3 separate regions of the Homo sapiens genome follow, and regions 2 and 3 are each linked to region 1. The links are contacts of gene promoters, found by promoter capture Hi-C in blood cells and fetal thymus (Javierre and others, 2016). All regions are on one chromosome and are shown on one strand. The core of a region is centred on a gene start or on the middle of the fragment in contact, and the rest is flanking DNA. Distances in the headings are between cores, read along the strand shown. Region 1 holds the start of PRPF39 (pre-mRNA processing factor 39). Region 2 overlaps HECTD1 (HECT domain E3 ubiquitin protein ligase 1). Region 3 holds the start of CFL2 (cofilin 2).

Region 1 (2,618 bases), core at 35-2,534:
ATTCTGAGACTTTACACAAATAGTGTCTCATACCACCTATGAGCCATCTATGCTCAACCCCTACTTCAAAGTTCACAATCTAAGTACTAGTCCTCTTTAACAGAACTCCTTTCCATCACTTTATCCCTACTAGAGAGTGAACAGTGGAAAGTTCCAACTTTTGCAACTCTAGAATGAGGTTATAAATCTAGAGGGAGGAGGAAAACCTGACAGTAGACGCTTGTTCTTTTCACTCCATTCAAGCTCCCATACAGCCTAAAACACTTAAGTTTCAACATGAGCTTCATACGTCCCTGTCCAAAACTTGCTTTCTCAAGCCTCACGCTTTCCAGCTGTAGCAAAGTTTATTTCTGAACAGATTAAATCAGTTGCTAAATAATCTGAAGTCCTCAAACAGAAGGCCATATGAGTATCAAACGAAAAAAACAACATTTGAATCAGCATAAATTCACATGGTATTATGGCATCATTACTAATACACTGAGCAGTATTATTTATTAACTTCAAGTATTAATTAACTTAAAGATGTGATTTTGGAGAAAAACACCAGTGGTGGTCTCTGATTACCAAAGTTAAACATTCTTAAGCACAATCCCTTAAAAAATCCTGCCAGGATCAATGATGTGTTTTTTCTGTTTTAAAGTATCCTGCCAAAAGCTGTGGGTGCTGTGACTTAGGGTCGCAAAAGTGTTGCTTATGTAGTCAGAAGACAGAACGTGCCCTACAAGGCGCTCACATGCCTTAGTAATAGAACGTATATTATCTTCCCAATCCTCTGGCGGCTGCAAATGTGCTCCTTCCACTTCCAGCCACCCCAGCCGTGTTCCAGCTCCGGGAGAAGCAAGGGCTTTAGAATTACCCCCAAATATCTTCCTAAATCCAGGCGAAGGAGGCCCACACTTCTCCACCCTACCTAACGCACCCCTCAAGTGAAACGTTTGGTCTAAGAAAAAAATACCTTGCACCGCTCCACCCAACAGGTGGGAAGGAGAAAGGAATGGACAGCTGAGCGCTGAATCCGAGCCAGGCCTCAAACAGGGCGGGAGAGGGAGGCCGCGGCCAGAGCGCGGCCTGAAACCCGGCAGGCCCCTTTCAGTACCAAGTACCACCCTCTGCCCCAGCTAATTTCAAGGAGCCCGCCCCAGCAGACCTTATGATGGATGCCACTTGATGCCATGAGCCGGAGCCTGTGACGACCTAGCCGAAGATGGCACTTCACCGCCTCCGTCCCCACAGCCAGCACAGCAGCCGCCACCCGCGCCACGGCCGCCTGGTCCAGGGCACGATGCGCATGCGTCAGTGTCCCTGGAGGCGAAAAAGTCACGTGGGTTCGCAGCGCGCAGGCCTGGCCCTCCCAGGGATCCTCGCTGCCCGTGCGGCCCCAGCCCCGCCCCCGCAGCCCCGCCCCGCCCCGCCGCGAGCGAGGGCGGGGACCGCTGCGCCTACCTGCCTTTCCCTCCATAGGGACTTCCCAAAGGAAAGGAGGGCGTTTAGGGGCTTTCACACGCCTGATCTTAAACACAGCGCCCTGACCCCTCCCCACCAAAAACGGCAAAATGTCATTTTTGGGGGCAAATCTAAGGTTTTCCCTACAATTGTTCAAGCTTTCACACTAAAACATTTACCTAAAAACGGGCAGAAATTCAGCCTTAAACCCACAAATCTCACGATGGTATAGACCCTGGGCCCACTCAGGTTTCCTGAAAACTAAACAGTTCTGGAGTTAGGGGTTTGGAGAACGGGCTATTGTTAAAGAAAAAAGTATTTAGTGACACTTGTTAAAGCACAAAAAGAGGGCTTTATTCAGGACCATCGCAACAGGTATAGGGACCACTGACTGCAATGGAGACTTGCAGTAGGGAAAGAGATATTGGGCTCAACTCCTCATACAGCATGGGCAAGTGGAGATTTATAGCCAAGGAGCGGTGGTAAGTGAATGTATAATTACTAAGAGGAAACATCAGGGTAAGGGGGATTTTGGCTAAACCCACCTAATAGGATTTTTGCTGAAGACAGGCCAAGATAATGAGGCATCACCTGGGGGATGGTGGAGACTGAAGAACCTGATCAGATATTGAGGATGATCAGCTATCAAGGATGGGGGTTTATTGCTAATCTGACTTAGCAAAGTTCTTTGCTTAAACTGGATTTTACAAAGAAAGTGTACAGAAGAGCCTAGCAGAAGATTCAGAAACCTGACTAAAGTTGGCCAAGCAAAAAAAAAAATCTTTGTATCTGAAGGGATATGTTATCCTCTGGACAAATTGAGGGGGACTGTGCGTTAACAATCTTAGCAGTCCTCTTCAGTTGTACCACCATCTCCACTTTAATAAAAAAAAATTTTCTTTCAAATCTGGCCTCTCTCCCTTTAAGATTCTGTTACATTGGTGCCCCCGCATTCACCTGTCACTTACCATGTAATCTGTTGTTCCAGGTGCATTAGTATTACTACTGGGCTCCAAGTTCCTCATCTGAAATCTGTCTCCTCTGGAAATACTTATTTACAAGACGACGTTTCTTGTCACAACGCAGGTTAATCATAAATCCTCTCACCAGCACCTTTCGTTCGAAATACCAAATTCAGTCTTTTTTCCTACCTTTTACTTGCATCACACTGC
Region 2 (2,618 bases), core at 50-2,549, about 14 Mb after region 1:
ATTAATTTACATTTTTGCAAATCTCCTTAAAGTCTGCCTTAATGGAAGATAGCTGGATTCTCATATCTGCTTCTGCATTCAGTTTGTTGCATTATGTTATTTTGATTGAAATATATGAAAAAATCATCCACAGATGTATTTGGGAAAGGGAAGAAGAATATTATATTTTTTAACGTAATCATGGATATGCTTCTTTGATAACATGTCAAAATTCAACAAGTGATAGTTTCTTAAGGATTAGTTATAATGTGGATTCTGTTTTTTTTTTTTTTTTTTTCTTCGAGGCAGATTCTCGCACCCAGGTTGGAGTGTAGTGGTGCGATCTTGGCTCACTGCAACCTCCACCTCCTAGATTCAAGCAGTTCTCCCGCCTTAGCCTCCTGAGTAGCTGGGACTACAGGCGCAGACAACCACACTGGAATAATTTTTTTTATTTTTAGTATTTTATGTTGGTCAGGCTGGCCTCGAACTCCTTACCTCAAGTGATGCACCTGCCTTGGCCTCCCAAAGTACTGGATTACAGGCATGAGCCACTGCACCCTACCAGGATTAGTTATAATGTGGATTCTGATATCATATCAGTGAACTTATACTCACTCTGTTACATTAAAATCTGATGGTCTGTCTTATACTTTGAGTGACTGTTTTACCCATGTTTACTTTTGCAAAAATTATGCATTGGTCATGTGGAAAATATCAGTCCACTGAGTTACACAGATTTTCCAAATGTGGACATATCTCATTCCACAGTGCCAAAAAGTCTTATTTGTCAATATGACTACCACTCTCATCAGACAAGTTTTTAAATATTCAGAAGCTTTCAAGCTCATGGTGTCAAATACAAGTTTTCCAAAAATGTCATTTTTGCTTGTAAAGTTGAGTGTTATGATTGGCAACAAATACAGTTGATCGTTTTCCTTGAAATGAAAGGCATACGTGATTAAATTTTGAAAAAATGTTTGCCAGATAGCCAAGTCTGAATGATCAGTTTGTCTGATAGTCCTTCAAGTAAAAATGGTGTTGCAAGAAAAAAGTGGCTAGTTCAGTCCTCAAGTATGTACTTTGCCATTATTCTTCCGTATGCAGTGCTTTATAATTAATTCCCATTTCCTTTAAGTAGAATATTGAAAAGATGTATCTTCAGGGGTTGAGATTTAGTAAATTTAATAATTTTGCTTCATCTAGTTTATTCTTTAGTGAAACTGGCTTTTTTCTTAATACCAGTGCTTGGCAGTGAAGAATACAGTTATCTAGTACAGGTTAGGGCTACTGCCTTGATTCATGTTAAAGCACCTGCAGTTTTATCCACTATTGCTTTTGCATCATTAGTGCGCATGTCAACACAGGAAAGAAAGTGATTCAAGAAGAGAAAGGGCAATTGTTTTGAATACTAGTGAGAGGTCAAGTAGGGGTTAGATGAAAAGATGTCCTTTAGATTTAGCAACATTCTCAAGGTCATTGATCTTAATGAGAGCTGAGTGGAGTGGTGGTGAGGGGCAGATCTGAATGGGTTGAGGAGTGAGTGGAACATGAAATGGAGGACATGTGGAAACTTTTTTGAAGAATTGAATTGGAAAAGGAGTGTGGGGTTTTTTCTTTTAAAGGTCAAAGAGATAAGAAAGAGAGTGAATAATCCCTAGGGTAAGGATTCTGAAAAACTGGGAGAGAATTGGCTTTTGTATAGAAGCAGTGCTTCTTAAATTTTAATGTGCATAATGAGAGTCACCTGGGGATCATGTTAAAATGCATATTCTGATTCAGTTGGTCTTATATGAAGCTTGATATTCTGCATTTCTAATATGGTCCTAGATTATGCAGAAACTGTTGGTCAGAAAATCCCACCTTGAGTAGCAAAACCCTGATCCACTGGTGGAGAGATTGGTTTTAGGCAGAAAGAAGTTGTGTACTGCCGTTGTAACAGAGAAGATAGAGACGTTAGATGCACATGTTTTGGGTTTGATGGTAAAAAGTTAAGGGCTGGGACTGGGCGTGGTGGCTCATGCCTATCTGCAGTCCCAGCACTTTGGGAGGCCGAGGTGGGTGGATCAGTTGAGGTCAGGAGTTCGAGACCAGCCACGGTGCCTGGCCCTGAGTTATAGTCTTAAAAATTGATTTGCCTGTGCTACTCCCTTTTACAGAATCTGTTGGGTTCTTCACCTACAGGATCAAATTTAAATGTCTTCAAAGACCCCTCCTGCATATTCTCACATGTATACACTACTTCCACTTTACTATACTTTCAGTTCTCCACTGGACTACGAGCTCGTCTTTGTTTTCCCATTGCTAAGCATAGTGCCTGGCACACAAATAGCTAATATCCAGATACTGAAGGAGTGAATTGAAGAGATTGCTTATATTGGACCTGTTTTCCACCTAATGCCTAAAATGCCCATGGAAGGTATTTGTGGAGTTGAGAAACTTGTTGTTAGTATGCAGGAGGAAGAGTATTGTATTCTTTTTTGTTTTTTTTTTTAGCAGATACAGTATCAATAAGTACTTTCCTTACTTTCTACCATTAATATACCTGCCTTTTCTTTCTTTTTTTTTTTTTTGTTTTGAGACGGAGTCTTGCTCTGTCGTGTAGGCTGGAGTGCAGTGGCGCAATCTCGGCTCACTGT
Region 3 (2,618 bases), core at 59-2,558, about 10 Mb after region 1:
CCTACACATAGCAGATGATCAGAGCTCTGGAGAGACATTCTCCATGACTTCTTGGAAGTTCAACAGATAAAGTGAAAGGTTCCATAAATTGTAATGTACCAGCTAGATATAAAGTATTATCCACTTGCTTGGGATTCATGCTTAGACATTGGGAAATCCCTTCTCAATTTTTGTCTCTAAACGAAGTCTATCTTCCAATTAAGAAAACAAACCCAAGATATAGACAGAAAAATAGGTCTGTTTCAATGCCTAGCATGTTCCATTTAAAATACAGTAAATTTGGGCTGAAAGAACTTATCACGCAATCTAGGGCAAACACCATCTCATGACTTTCCTGCCTAACCTCAATCCTGAGACCACCAAAAACACACCATTTCCTACTGAACATTGATATACTCAGAAACTGAAATCTAAAGCTGGAAAGGGCCTTAACGATAATTTAATAACAGTTTGTTTTACACATGAAGAACCCTGAGGTATGGAGGAGTTAAGATTAAAAAAAGAGAAACTGCCTTGGCGCAGTTATATGGGCTTTGCTAGAAGAGGCTGCGTCGGCTTATTTGATATCAGCTGTCATAGCTGGAGCTTCATGAAATCTCTAAGAGAGAGTACAATCCATTTCCTATGAAGTCTAAAATGTAAAAGGATATTACTAAGGAATGCTACCACGTAATTTTTTAATCATAATTATTATTTCAACCAGAGTTTTGAAAAGTGATTTACCAACACTGCGTATCATTTTGTTTTTGCTAAGTACTATCAACTGGAGCAATCTCGTGTAGTATTTATTCTCATTTATCTCTAAACAACTGGGGGTTTTCCAAAAAGACTCAAAATGTCGAAATCCAGCCTCTTTCGGGAAAACCACAGGTAAATAAGGAAAGACACCTTCGCAGGAGTTCCCCTCACACGCACCCACCCCTGGCGCAGGGCCCTACGGAGGCGGTGGAAACGCCCCTCTGGGAGCCCAGCACTCTCTCCCACCGGCTTGACGGGTGATGCTCGGGGGCTGGAGGCGGCTCTGCCAGGCTCCCGGGCTCCGCTACCACCGCGTCGCCCCCCCCGGCCTGCAGGGCTCGCGCTCTGAGGTCAGGCCGAGGACGCGGACAGCCGGGGAGCCGGGGCCGCGAGACAGAAGGGCCGGCCTGGGAGCGGGTGGCGCCGGCTGGGGACCAGGCGTGCCCACGTGACCGCCCCGCCCGCTGCCTGCGGCCCGCCGAGCCCCGCCACCTCCCTCGGGCTGCAGCTCCCGGCGTGCCCCGCACTCTCCGCTGCCCACCCGCTCGCCCGCCCCTCCTTCTCCTCCCAGTGCCACAGAGCCGAAGCCCGAGCTGCCGCCGCAGCCACAGCCGAGGGCACTATGGTAAGACGAGCGCGCTGGCCGGGAGGCCGCGGCGAGGCGAGAAAAGCCCCCCGCACGGCCCCGGGAGTGAGGCCGCCATTTTAACCTGATTTTGGCCTCCAAGGTGGGCGCTTCTGCTCTGCGGCTCCGCTGCTCTCCAGCCGACCGGCCTGCCCTCCGGCCGTCAGGCCCTGCCCTGCTGCTCTTTGGATTTTGGGGGGCGGGGAGGGCCCGGGCGTCGGCGCAGGTTGGGGGTCGGGGCCGGGCGGGCGGGGGCGCGAGAGGGTCTGCGGACTGCAGCCGCTCGCGCCGCCTTTGCCCTTCGCTTCCTAATTTTACTTAACACGCGAGGCTTTAAAATTGGTACGTGCTGCGAACGCTGTGTGGGTCAGGGTCTGGACGGCCTGTAATAAAACCCTTACGGGGAGATTAAGGAAGAGGGAAAACACTTTTTAAAATGCTTTCTCGCCGTAAAAGCTTTTACACTCGATCAGTTAGTTTTGGAGTGTCTGCATGTGAGCTGTGTGTGGGCCGTGGGCGGTTTGGAGTTTACACTTGATTCTCTTTCCTTATGAGGAAACGTCAGTGGCTAGGATGACTTTAAAGAAAAAAATAGTAGAAGCATTAACTGAAATCCAAAAGTGTTTTTTTAAGGCCAGCCGAGTTGACACAATACAGAAGGTATTTTTGCTGCCACTCCTGAAGCTCTGACATCACCCAGTGAAATAGGAAACATTTCAGGGATGGGACAACTTGTATTTGTCCCTTTCGCTTCCACGTCCAAACCCCTTTAAGAAGGATGAATGGGCAGGATGAGTTAGACTCCTTCGCTGTATCGTCTACTGATTCTTAAAATGTGACAAATCTGATTGGACGACTTACATGGTACGGTGCAATTTTTGATGTCCAGACTAAAGTGAGTCTTCTCTAGGCAAACAGTAATTTTGGTTAAAACCAAAATACGTGTTCTGAATTACTGTTCTGTGTTTATTTTCAGGCTTCTGGAGTTACAGTGAATGATGAAGTCATCAAAGTTTTTAATGATATGAAAGTAAGGAAATCTTCTACACAAGAGGAGATCAAAAAGAGAAAGAAAGCAGTTCTCTTCTGTTTAAGCGATGACAAAAGACAAATAATTGTAGAGGAAGCAAAGCAGATCTTGGTGGGTGACATTGGTGATACTGTAGAGGACCCCTACACATCTTTTGTGAAGTTGCTACCTCTGAATGATTGCCGATATGCTTTGTACGATGCCACATACGAAACAAAAGAGTCT

What was found. The method cuts DNA at HindIII sites, captures the fragments that hold promoters and counts their contacts. A CHiCAGO score of 5 or more calls a contact.
Region 2: a contact is called between a fragment that was not itself captured here and the fragment with the promoter of PRPF39 in region 1, in 1 of 17 cell types (total B cells). The highest score is 5.7, in total B cells.
Region 3: a contact is called between the fragment with the promoter of CFL2 here and the fragment with the promoter of PRPF39 in region 1, in 1 of 17 cell types (total B cells). The highest score is 5.2, in total B cells.

Annotation. Positions count from the first base shown.
Region 1 is chr14:45,082,782-45,085,399 of GRCh38, reverse strand. It overlaps PRPF39 (pre-mRNA processing factor 39), which reads right to left and starts at 1,284. Exons shown (of 14, transcript NM_017922.4): 1 at 1,151-1,284. PRPF39-DT (PRPF39 divergent transcript) reads left to right here and starts at 1,374. Exons shown (of 2, transcript NR_184211.1): 1 at 1,374-1,928; 2 at 2,013-2,352. RefSeq lists a silencer at 1,290-1,579. The HindIII fragment of the contact is 5,294 bases long and covers 1-1,606 here.
Region 2 is chr14:31,196,693-31,199,310 of GRCh38, reverse strand. All of the region lies in intron 2 of HECTD1 (HECT domain E3 ubiquitin protein ligase 1), which reads left to right. Among named protein-coding and RNA genes, the nearest start is that of HECTD1, 9.8 kb to the left of the region's middle. The HindIII fragment of the contact is 960 bases long and covers 820-1,779 here.
Region 3 is chr14:34,713,283-34,715,900 of GRCh38, reverse strand. It overlaps CFL2 (cofilin 2), which reads left to right and starts at 1,308. Exons shown (of 4, transcript NM_138638.5): 1 at 1,308-1,363; 2 at 2,340-2,618. The coding sequence starts at 1,361. RefSeq lists silencers at 872-1,461, 1,552-1,611. The HindIII fragment of the contact is 2,283 bases long and covers 1-1,821 here.